Regions from separate parts of the Homo sapiens genome. Here region 1 is linked to region 2. Evidence: promoter capture Hi-C in human tissues and cell types (Jung and others, 2019). All regions are on one chromosome and are shown on one strand. The core of a region is centred on a gene start or on the middle of the fragment in contact, and the rest is flanking DNA. Distances in the headings are between cores, read along the strand shown. Region 1 holds the start of ZNF267 (zinc finger protein 267). Region 2 holds the start of ZNF843 (zinc finger protein 843).

What was found. Contacts are between HindIII fragments. The study calls those that stand out against the background at their distance.
Region 1: a contact is called between the fragment with the promoter of ZNF267 here and the fragment with the promoter of ZNF843 in region 2, in 1 of the 25 tissues and cell types used here (H1 embryonic stem cells).

Annotation. Positions count from the first base shown.
Region 1 is chr16:31,871,053-31,877,604 of GRCh38, reverse strand. ZNF267 (zinc finger protein 267) reads right to left here and starts at 3,798. Exons shown (of 4, transcript NM_003414.6): 1 at 3,636-3,798. The coding sequence starts at 3,638. RefSeq lists enhancers at 1-11, 1-213, 3,683-3,977 and silencers at 3,517-3,596, 3,747-3,796. The HindIII fragment of the contact is 15,903 bases long and covers 1-6,552 here.
Region 2 is chr16:31,439,736-31,445,817 of GRCh38, reverse strand. It overlaps ZNF843 (zinc finger protein 843), which reads left to right and starts at 3,029. Exons shown (of 2, transcript NM_001136509.3): 1 at 3,029-3,182. RefSeq lists a silencer at 3,013-3,222 and an enhancer at 2,607-3,402. The HindIII fragment of the contact is 16,324 bases long and covers 1-6,082 here.

The sequences.
Region 1 (6,552 bases), core at 2,549-5,048, 430 kb before region 2:
ACTTAACAAAACTTTGTATTTTTCTCCAGGTTGCTGGACTTTGACACACTCACAGCCTGGTCAACATTCAACCCCTCCCTAAGCCCCTCCTAAGAACAGGCTGACATCAGAGTGAAACATTCTCTGATCTCGAATCTGATTTTGGCACCTTAATCCTGCCCTTCCCCTCCTACCTTCTGAGCTTGTTTGCTCCTCCCTGTGAAAGAAAGTCTTTGTCTGCCTAACCTTTGAGATCCACAAAGATCTTACAGCTGTTGCTTTCCCCCTATTGCAATACTCCTTTAGAATTAAGGAACTTCTTACCTAAACCTGAATTTGTTTTATTTGACAAAATCAAATAAAATGTGGGGAAGGAACTGGAAACTTAATATTTTACTGCAAGCCTCAGTCTGGGGGAACACAGTGGTAGATTTGAGACTCTGCGTGCCACACATTAGGAAAACACAGGGGGAAAACCAGTTGTCGGGTGGGGGGAGTGTTAAAATGATTAATGAGTAGGCGACTATATGGAAGTGGTTGTAGTGCCCTGGGTTTCTGGGAAGAAAAACCAAAATCAGGACAATCACAATTTCTACCCTCAGAAAGAGCCTCCCAACCCTCCTTCCATCCCAACCCCAAATGCCTCTTTCTGTGGATTTTCAGCTTTCAGCTTTCCAGGGCTCTGTAGCTTCTCAGTATAAAGGGCTCCTTCCATGGATGGGGTGAGCAGGCTGGGAAACCTGCAGGGGAAACTCCCCTGGAAGAACTAACTGGGCTTCAGTGACCTCTTCTTGCAGGCTCAAGACCAGGTTAGTTTGCACTCTCTGAGCTCAGGCTTCTGCTTCCCAGTCAGGGTTATTCAATTAGTATTCAATGAGAATGCCCAGTGTTGGAAGAAAGCAAAACTACTCAAACAGTGTTTATAGAATAAAGGAAAGTGAAACGCCTTTATAATTTATACCTCAACAGAAAACACTAAAGTATCTATCCCTTTCAGACAATAAATAGGCCACTTACTTATTTCCATGATAACAGATCATTTAGTAAATAATCATATATAAACAATTCTAGCCAGTGCTACGTTCAGCATTAAAGCCATACATCCAAGGCCAGGCATGGTGGCTCATGCCTGTTATCCCAGCACTTTGGGAGGCCAAGGCGGGAGGATCACTTGAGCCCAGGAGTTTGAGACCACTCTGGGGGCAACACAGTGAGACCCACATCTTTACAAAAAGAAAAAACAAAATAGCCAGCCATGGCGCAGCACCCCTGTAAGTCCCATCTACTTGGAAGGCTGAGGTGGGAGGATCACTTGAGCCCAGGAGGTTGAGTGAGCTGTGATCACACCACTGCACTTCAGTCTGGGTGACAGAGGAGAGATCCTGTCTCCAAAAACAAAAAATAAAAAATAAACTCAACATCCAGACAAGAGGATAAAGAACAAAGATATCCACTGTCATAACTTCTTCACCCTACAAAAAAAAGAAACTGATGTTTTGATGAAACTATGTAATTCACCAATTTACCACACGTTGTTGTGAAAATGTATTCACTTTCTACAGCCAATAATGAAAGAAAGATTTTCTCTGTTTCTTTTCCCTGGCAGCATTTCCAAAAGGTGAGCCCTGAGATTCTGTTTTAAATTACTCCCAAAAAAAGAACAAACCTGAGAAACTTACTACACTCATTCTGCTGAAAAAAAAGATAGTAAGAATTTTTAACAATGAAGTATGACTTGATATTTTAATTTTCTGAAATCCACCTTTCATGGCCTTGGAAATGTTTTTTATCTTTCAAGCTCTACTGATGAAATTTACACTAACTGAAAAACTGAAGTAGAAATAAATGAACAATCTAAGGCAGCAAACTCAGGGAGTGGTAATGCTGTTGGAATACAGACATATCTGGCTCAAGTGTCAAGTCAGGTCACGGTATCATTTGAGACATTCTCCTACCCCAATACTGCTCATTAAAATGCTCAGGGACCATCCTCCCAGATCCTGCACTGTGCCCCATGGACACCGCAGCCGAGTTTGCACCACCTCACTGGGGTGGGGTTTTTGTTTTTTGGTCCTTTGGGAGTTTTTCTCCCTTCACAAATCTGAATGAATCTAGGGGGCAGGAATCATTTGTGACTGTTTCCCCTCAATACCAGCAAACGATTGGCTGACCAGCAATGTGTCTCCAAGGGATGAAAACTAGCTTTGAAGAAATAAAATCCTTATGTCCCAAGGGGTTATCTTTTTAGGTTAAGGGTGTCCCAGGAGATTTCTCTCAGCCCCAGGGCATCCAGCTGCTCCCCTGAGGGACTACATTTCCATACCTTGGGCGGTCCTCTAACAGGAGGTGACCTGGGGCTGACAGTCACTAAACACTCCAGGAGACATGGCCACTGTGGGCATCTTGAGTCATCCCAGACAGTTCTGAAATTCAGGAACAGGAAAAGACTGGATAGAGGGTGGCTATACAGGGCCCTGTAAAGTTTCCAAAGCAAAACCTCAAGTCAAAAGACATTCTTTCCGATAACGTGTCTGTGCCTGGGGAAGATGAATGAAAAAGAGGCACAGTTTTTTTTGCAGTGGAGTGTCAGGGATTTTTTATTCTCTGCTTTCCTCTCACGTGAAATGTATGCCAAAAAAACACAAATCTTTAAAAAAGTGTCATCCACTGCTCTGTGAAATCATGATTAATGAGTAAAATACTGTCTGAAATGTACAATAAATGACCAATAGTTAAGAATGTGAACTGGAGAGGGGAAGTTGGCCTTTGGAAATGTCGGGAAGGAACTGGAAATTTAATATTTTATTGCAAGCCCAGTTAGACTGGGGGAACACAGTGGTGGACTTGAGACTCTGCGTGCTACACGTTAGGAAAGCGCAGGGGGAAAACCAGTTCCCCTGGGCAGTGTTAAGATGATTAATGAGCAGGCGATTATACGGAAGTGGTTATAGTGCCCCAGGTTTCTAGGGAGAAAAACCAAAACCAAACTCAAATGCTTTTCTTGTAAATTACAACTTTAGGGGAAAACAAAATTCAGACTTAACGAACCACAAAGCTCCAATTCACCTCCACCTGCATAGTCTAAATAAGGCAACTACAAACTGTAACCCATCGGTTAATTTGGTCTGCTTCCTCATGCACCTTATAAAAACCTTTCCTTCAAGCCCCTCTGGGGATCTCCGAACCACAAACCAGGACTGCAGGCTTCCCATGTCACAAATCGCTATTTGCTCAAATTCTTCAACGTTTTAACAGTGACTCCCTTTAATTCTTAAGAGGAGTAGTGACTGAGGACCCCACAGGGCACGGTTTCTTCCCACACACCGAACCTGGGTCTCCCCTGAGACGCTCCCGTCCTCACCGCACAATCTGGGGGAGACGCGGGGCTGCGACGCGGAGCTGCCCAGAGAGGGCTCCGGCCAGGGACGAGGTCGCTCTGCGGGGTCGGGATGGGACAGGACACGCGGGGTCCCGGCTGCCGGCCTGGCCGCCATCTTGCAGCGGAGGGGACCGAGGGCCGAGCTGCACCAGTTGGGACTCGGGGCCCAGACCCCGAGGCTGACTGCGGGGAGGCCCGGGTGCCCCTACAGCGGGTTCCCGCCGCTTCCGACCACCGCCCTCCCTCCCTCTGGGGACCCCCGACCCCGCACACTCACCATTTCCCAGCTTCCGGGATGCCCTGGCGTCTTAGCTACGAATCTCCCAGTGCCTGCAAGTCGCAGAGCAACAGAGGTTCTGTTTATTCTCAGAACGCGAAGCCGCCTGGGCCTCCCAGAACGAAAGACTCGGAGCTGTGGCGAGGAGACCCGAGCTCTAACTGGAGCCGACGAAGGCCCCCGCCAAATCCCGGAAGCCGCCCCTGCTCTCCGGCTTCACTCCTGATTGGACGGTTTCCACTCCAGCGCCCCTGATTGGATAAAGCTCCATGCCCCGCCCCCTCATTATTAGTGCCTTTTTTTTTTTTTTTTTTGAAAGGGAGACTGGCTCATTGAGGTGGGGCCGCCTGCTGCGGGTATTACAGCTAATTAAGGGGTGAGCTGCGACTTGAAATACACTTGCTCTTTCCCTTACCTGGTTCTGCTTGTATAAGACATCTTATTAGCTAATTAAGTTTAAGAAGAAGTATATTTAGACACCTTTAAAGCAAGAAAGACCCTCATCCCGTCCCTTAGCACCTCTCTTACCGCACTGTACCCCACTGCTAACGCCACCGTGGGAGGGGGCCCCTCAGCTGGGAACAGAAGGCCGTACACTTCATTCACGTGTTTTCAATTAGGCCCTCGCATGATACATAGACTGAACCAGTGCAAAAGCATCTTATAGGGGCATGCAGGCTGGGGTCCCAGGAGGATGTTGCGGGCCGTGGTGGAACGTGGAAGAGGGGCTGGCCTATTCTTCTAATCTACAACTCTGCCCGCATCTCCTGGAGTCTGCATCACTGGTAACGGGGCCGCTGACTGTCCGTCTGTCTCTCCTTCTCAATCCCTTCAAGCTCAGGGAAGAAGGGTCCTTGGCAGCGACAGGGCTGGGAGCTCAGTTCCTCTGGGCCGTGCTGGCTCAGGCTCTGTGGCCACGGACTCCTCAGCCCTACCTCTGGTTTTTGCTTTTGTTTTGAGACAGGGTCTCACTCTATTGCCCAGGCTGGTGCAGTGGTGCAGTCATGGCTCACTGCAGCCTCCGGGGCTCAAGCAATCTTCCCACCTCAGCCTCCTGAGTAGCTGGGACTACAGGCACATGCCACCATGCCCGGCTGATTTTTGTATTTTTTGTAGAGATGAGGTTTCACCATGTTGCCCAGGCTGGTCTCCATCTCCTGAGCTCAAGCGATCCTCCCACCTTAGCCTCCCAAGTAACTGGGGCTACAGGTTAATAGTCAGTTCGCCAACTCCTGAGCTCAAGTATTCTGTCTGCTTTGACCTGCCAGAATGCCCTATTCCTGTTTTTCTGGAGTCTTGGAGCTAGTGGCGCTGCAGCACCTCGTAGTCTTCCGGCTGAGTAGATTCTCCTAGTCTTCTGGCTGAGTAGAAGGTGGGAGAGGAGGTGGGTGTCAAACTGGGCCAGGGCCCTCGGCCGCCATCTAGCTTGGTTAAACTCCCACTTGGGACAGATCAGGCTCTGTGCCTTATTCAGTGAGACGTGTGGAACAAATGCTTCCCTCCCCAAAGCAGAAACATCCCTGATTGCTGACAGTCAGGATTCCATGCACTTGTCTTGGCCTGGGGCATGGCTGCCTCTCACCCTCTCACCCAGTTCTAGTCGCTGCACTCTGTGGCCTCCCTGCCACCAGATTAGGTGTAGACAACGGGTGTGGGACAGGGCTGCTGACACCACTGGCTGACCAAACCCCTTTCCCACACTGAAGGGAGAAAAGACAGGAGGTTAGGGGCTCCCAAAGGCAGCACTGCTTGTGACAGCACCACGGGAGTCCTTAGGGCCTACTAAGGGGCTGGGCTGGAACTCAGGATCAACTCTGCCTGACTCCAAAGCCCATGCACCTCCATGGACCTCACAACTCAAGCAGCTTCCCTAGGCCTTTGAAATCCTGGAGATTGACTCTTTTGCGATAGAAGAAAGATTCCTTTTGATTCTCATCCTTCTAGTACTCTTCACAATTGGAAATAATCCCCACCAGAGAATGCTTCTGAAATGTCTTGGAAACATGTAGAATAATTTGGGAAAATGGCTGAAGGCTGAGTTTAAGAAATCAAGGCCTAACATTCTATTTTTCATTTCTTATAGGAGAGATTTGAAAGCACTTATAATGGACTCAATGTGTCTGCAAATTATTTTTGTCCCCTTTCAGTATTTGTAAGCTGTTGATGATTTTCAATACAGATTAACTCAAACTACTGTGACTGAAACAATCTTTTACTCTGAAAGCAAGAGATACAAAGGTATATCTGCTGAGAAGACATTTTTTTCTGCCACAATTTAGCCAAACAGCTGAGTACGTCTTAAAGTCAGCCTTTGATTTCTAACAAGTCAAGCTATTTGCCAAGACCACAGTCAGACCATATGACTTAACTACTTCATTGTCCCAGAATGTTGACCAGACAGATCGAAGCTCTGGGGGTGGAGTGGTGAGAGGACCCACGCTAGCAGGTGGGCAGCCATGGGTCCATATGTGAGAATCACTCATTAGGTGGGGTGTTTTGAGGTCCTGATATTTATGACACAATTAATGTGTATATTACTAAAAGTAAATTATAGAACATTACAAATAATAAATCTATATATAAACTAAACATGTCAGCAATTACAACTACTGTTATTTATCATTATTCTAAGTGTGATCATCATTATTACCACAATTAGAAATAGTAGTTGTGGATGCTGCTGCTGCTGCTGTTGCTGGAGGGATGGTGATAAAAACAGCGAGTAAGGCTCTGCTGCCTCCTTCACCTGCGGCATCGGGAGCTGCTGGCTCACTAGTTTGGTGCACACTCTGGACTTCTTTGGTGAAGCTGCAGCTGAAGAGCCTTCAGGCTCCGCTATGGCAGAATTTGAAGGTGGCAGGTAGGATGGTCCCAGGATGCAGTTGATGTTGAAGAGGTGCACACCACTTAGTGAATG
Region 2 (6,082 bases), core at 1,780-4,279:
TCTGCCCACCTTGCCTCCCAAAGTGCTGGGACTACAGGCGTGAGCCACTGCGCCTGGCCTCTTTTTTTTTTTCTTTCTTTTTTTTTTTTTTAAATAAATTACCCAGTCTCAGGTAGTTCCTTACAGCAGTGTGAAAACAGACTAATACAAAGCACTTTCACCTTCTGCCATGGATGACCCTTGATGCTGGTGCCATGCTGTTGGACCTCTAAGACTGCAGAACTGTGAGCCAAATAAATCTCCTTTCTTTATAAATTACCCAATCTGTGGCATGGTTATAGCAGCAGAAAATAGACTACACCAGAATATAGAATATATCAAGAGTATAGAAACACAACTGACTTCTGTGTATTGATTTTGTTGTTACAGCTTTGCAGAATTTGTTTATTAGCTCTAACAAAGTTTTTTTCATAGATTCTTTAGGATTTTCTATAAAATCACCTCATCTATAAATGGAGATAGTTTTACTTCTTCCTTTCTGATTTGCTTGCTTTTTATTTTTCCTTGCCTCATGGCAAGAGCTTCCAGGCAAGAACTGGTGAGAGCTTCCAGTACAAGGCTGAATAGATGTGGCAAAAGTGGGCATCCCTTTCTTGTTTCTGATCTTAGAGGAAAAGCTTTTATTCTCTCACCATTGAGTATGATGTTGGCAGTGGGTTTTTTCATAGATGCCCTTTATCACGTTAATTGAGTTTCCTTCTATTCCTAGTTTGCTGAGTATTTTTATGATGAAGGGTGCTGAATTTTGTCAAATGCTGTTTTTACACCAATTGAAATAATAATGTTTTCCTTTATTGTATTGATGTAGTGTATTAATTTATTTTCATAAGTTAAGCTAACCGTACATTCCTGGGATAAATCCCACCTGGTTATCCTTTTTATATATTTCTGAATTTTATTTGCCGGTATTTTCTTGAGGATTTTTATGTCTATATTCATAAGAGATATTAGTCTCTAGTTTTCTTGTGATGTCTTTGTCTGATTTTGATAGTAGGGTAATACTGGCCTCAGAATAAGTTGGGAGGTTTTCACTGTCATGACTTTTATAACCTAATTATAAGTAATTCTTGCCAGGTACGGTGGCTCATGCATGTAATCCCAGCACTTTGGGAGGCTGAGGTGGGTGGATCACCTAAGGTCAGGAGTTCGAGACCAGCCTGGCCAACATGGCAAAACCCCATCTCTATTAAAAATACAAAATTTAGCCAGGTGTGGTGGCCGTGTGTGTAATCCCAGCTACTTGGGAGGCTGAGGCACGAGAATCACTTGAACCCAGGAGGCAGAGGTTGCAGTGAGCCGAGATCGTGCCACTGCACTCCAGCCTGGGTGATAGAGCAAGACTCTGTCAAAAAAAGAAAGAAAGAGAGAGGAAAGAAAGAAAGAGAATGAGAGAAAGAGAGAAAGAAAGAAACTCCTATAGTATTCCACAGGTCACATAGACCAACCCTGGTGCATTGTGGGAAGGGACTAAAAAGGGTGTGAACACCAGGAGTAGGATCACTGGGAACTATCTCAGCAGATGGCTGCCATAGCCACCAACTGACTAACATTCACTGAACACTCACCATGTGCCAGACATTGTGCTAAGCTCTTCACTTGGCTTATCTCCTTGAATCTTCCCAGCAACCTTATGAGGTAAGTAGGTGCTGTTATTATTGCCATGTTACAGATGAAGAAATTGAGATACAGAGATTAGATTCACCAAACTGCCCAAACTCCCACAGCTATTAACTGGTGGAACCAGGAATCAAACTCAGTAGGGTGTGCATATAATATACTTTGGGTGGTGGTGGTTGTTGTTGTTGTTGTTGTTGTTGTTGTTGTTGTTGTTGTTTTGAGACAGGGTTTCACTCTTTCACCCAGGCTGGAGTGCAGTGGCATGATCTGCAACCTCTGCAACACTGCAACCTCTGCCTCCTGGGTTCAAGCGATTCTCCTGCCTCAGTCTCCTAAGTAGCTGGGATTACAGGTGTGCACCACCATACCCGGCTAATTTTTGTATTTTTAGTAGAATAATTTTTGTATTTTTAGTTTCACCATGTTGGCCAGGCTGGTCTCGAACTCCTGACCTCAACTGATCCACTACCCTTGCCCTCCCAAAGTGCTGGGATTACAGGCGTGAGCCACCGCGTCTAGCTTTTTTTTTTTTTTTTTTTTTTTTTAAGAGACATGGTCTTGCTCTGTTGCCCAGGCTGGAGTGCAGAGGTGTCACCATAGCTCACTGCACCTTCAACCTCCTGGGCTCAAGTGATCCTCCCACTTAAGCATCCTGAGTAGCTGGGACCACAGGCGCCCACCACCAAGTCCGGCTAAATTTTAATTTTTTTTTGTAGAGATGGGGGTCTCGCTTTGTTGCCCAGGCTGATCCCTAACTCCTGGCCTCAAGCAGTCCTCCCGCCTTGGCCTCCCAAAGTGTTGGGATTACAGGCGTGAGCCACTGCGCTCAGTCTGTGTATCCTGATTACTAAATTTTGGGGTGTCTCCTTAAATTCTGTGCCAGAAGCCAGTGCCTCACTCGCCCTACCCTAATTCCACCCATCCCGGTGACCCAATGTCCCCGTTCAACCTGCACCATGGCGCTTCCCAGCCCCGCTCCTAGCGCCTCCTCCCGCCCCTAGGGGTCGCCGTCGCGCCGTCATTCCCTTCCTTCGATGCCCGGGCGAGACGCGCAAAAGGTGGGAGGAGGAGAGGCCCGCGTGTGTGCATGCGCATGGCGCGGACTCCCTCATCCTGGTCAGGGAGTGGAGGGGTTGGGTCTCAGGCAGCTGTTAGCGGAGTCCTCAGTGTCTCGGTCGTTTCTCCCTGTCTTGGTGAGGGCCAGGGGACAGGTCGGGGCAGTATTTGGGGGAAGCGAGAGGCAAGCAGGGCGGGCTGGATACGGAGCGCCCTATGACTGAGGTTAGGGAGGACGCCCGAGACCCCCGGCATCCTAGTCCTGGGCCGTGGGCTCCGGACGCCGGGCCAGGACGCCTCCAGCTCCCAGGGTCCCTTGCGGGGACCATGTTTCCCCACAGGCCCCGCGGCTGCCGGGTCCTCGCCACGTCCCCTTCCCGGAGCTACGCGCCCGGCTGGGTTCCGATCCGCCGTGTCTCTCGGGGGCGGCTCGCGGGGCAGGGGCGCTCCCGGCTCGGCCGCACGCCCAAGTGTCATGCGGGAGGTACGCGGGCACGGGACCTCACCGGGTAAGAGCGAGCGAAGGGGCCGGGCGCGGTGGCTCACGCCCGTAATCCCAGCACTTTGGGAGGCCGAGGCGGGCGGATCACGAGGTCAGGAGTTCGAGACCAGCGTGGCCAATATAGTGAAATCCCTTCTCTACTAAAAATGCAAAAATTAGCCGGGCGTGGTGGCGGACGCCTGTGGTCCCAGCTACTCGGGAGGCTGAGGCAGGAGAATCGCTTGAACCCGGGAGGCAGGGGTTGCAATGAGCCGAGATCTCGCCACTGCACTCCAGCCTGGGGAACACAGCGAGACTCCGTCTCAAAAATAAATAAATAAATAAATAAATAAATAAATAAAATCGAGCGAAGGGCCGCAGCCCGGGCCCACCGCCTCCACCTGAACACGCGCCTCCGCCGAGCCCCTCGACCCCGCGCCAGGCGAGGCTTGGTGGGGCGTTCCGTGGACCCCACACGCACGTCGGTGTTATCAGGAGGGAAGGGGCGGGCCAACACCTCCACCGCCTTTGCGGCCGGCCGTCCACCCTCCATTCTCCTGCTGGAGCCGTTTCCCAGCGATTCTCCGGCAGTGCTGGCTGCAGCACACCCGGCCCGCCTTAAAATCTCAGCCGCCTCCCCCGTCCCGGAGTCCTCCCCTGGGTTCTGTCCTTAACTGCATCACCGACCCCACATACACACAGGCATGAACACCCATCTTTTCACACGCCCCGTTTGCTTTCTCAGAACTTAGCAGATACTCTTAAGCTGAGAGGGTTTGGTGAGGTTAAAATTTATCTTGTGACATTGAGTCCAGCAGTTCAGAGCCTTGAACACCTCAGTACATGGCCTTGACCTTAGTTTATTACTTCTGTATTCTGCCGGGCGCTGCGGCTCACGTCTGTAATCCCAGCACTTCGGGAAGCCAAGGCGGGAGGATCGCTTGAGCCCAAGAGTTGGAGAGTAGCGTAGGCAACAATGAGATCCTGTCTACACTAATTATTTAAAAAAAAAAAATTAGCCAGGTGTGGTGGTGCACACCTGTGATCCCAGCTACTCAGGAGGCTGAGGGAGGACCGCTTGAGCCCAGGAGGTCGAGGCTGCAGTGAGCCATGATGGTGCCACTGCACTCCAGCCTGGATGATAGAGGGAGAGCCTGTCTCTAATACTAATAATAATCAATAATAATACTGTACGGTGTGCCCATTACTCAGGAGGCACTGTAGTAGAAGGATAAGCTGTGGCGGTAACTGAGGATAAACAGATAACCATTTAGCTAAAAAGGTTCTTAACCTTGGCTGTATGTTGTTACTCCTGGGTGCAGCACAGGCAAAATAATTTTGAAAGCTCCCAGGTAATCCTAATGTGCAGCTAGCACTGAGAACCACTGCTTTAACCCCTGAGGAAGGTAGGTAGGGCCTAGGGTGGCCCGAAGCACTGGGCCGGGCACCTTCAGTAGGGAGCAATCTCAACCCTTTATCCCTGTGAGTTACTCATATTGTAACATTTTCTGTGGGTTCCATGCTGTGAAAACAGTAAGCACTGCCCTACAGTAACAAGCATGCTTGACAGCCCTTGTGTCAGATCATCCATTGGAAGAGAGGGGAATCAAATCACAAAAGGCCAACTGGAAAACACACTCATCTAGGGAAGAGATTAGGAAAGCCTGGGCAAGGCTGATGACAGGGAATGTAAGAGAGGAGTTATAGTCACAGGAAGAATGTTGAGTGATAGTAGAAAACTAGATGGAAATTTCTGGCAGCCTGTGGTACTTTTAATTGGCACAAGGACTGATTTCGGTAACAGGTCCCCCTGACTCCCAAAGGAGAGCTGCGGGAATTGCTGTGGTCTTCCTAGGGCCCTCAAGACCATGAATGGGCTGGAGTCTGGACCAGTCTCAGGCACTAGCAAATTGGACAGTAGCTCATTCATACTGGTATAAGAGCTGCTGCTTTATCGAGGCCAGAGGCCCTTTCTTATATGGGGCAGCAGCTGCGCTCCTGGGAATGATTCCTACATAAAAGATTCCACATGGAAAAAAAATAAGCTCTGTGCATTCCATGAAGATGCTCATTACAGCATTATCTCTACTAATGATCTATTCCAATAATAAAGGAAATGAATACAATATAATATGGTATTTCAAACAAAGCCATTAAAATAGATCATTATGAAAGAATGTGAATGAATGAGAAATGTTCATAAGTTAAAAAAATGCTTATTTTTCAGAGAGCAAAATTAGACTCGTCTGTTGCTTGGAATGGCTTCCTCTTGCTCTGTGTCTAAACTATGATTATGGAGTAGTTAAAATGCATATGCATGTTGGCAAAGCCTGAATAAAATATGCAAACGTGAAAATATTTTTTGTAGAGGAGATGAAATTATGGAGGAAGGAGTGTGTCTATTTCAAAATTGTCCTAATGAGAAGTATTGTGGCATAGTAGTTCAGAGGAAGCTCCCTGGAGCCAAAAATTTTTTTACCGTATATATGGCTTTTCTAAATTACTTAAACTTTCTATGCCTCAGTTTCTTCATCTATAAAATGGGGTAATCGTTAGTATCTTGGAGAGTTGTTGTGAGGTCTAACCAATATGTGGAAACTCTTAGAATAGTACCTGGCATGTAGTAAGTACACTGTAAGTCCTGGCTATTTCAACTCCGTATTATTTATAGCTTAATAAAATATTTTAAAGATAGTTGGCCAGTCAGCACTGATACTCCTGTCTACCTGTGTTACATCTCAGAAGAGGCTTAGCCTATCTGTGCTGACACTTACTGAAGTATAAGTTATATATAAAACACACCCACTTTAAGTGTACAGGTTGCTGGTTTTTGGTGAATGTGTACACGGGCATAACCATCATCACATTCAGGGTGCAGAACTTTGCCGTCACCCTCTCATGCCCCGTGCAGTCAGCTGCTCTCTCCCT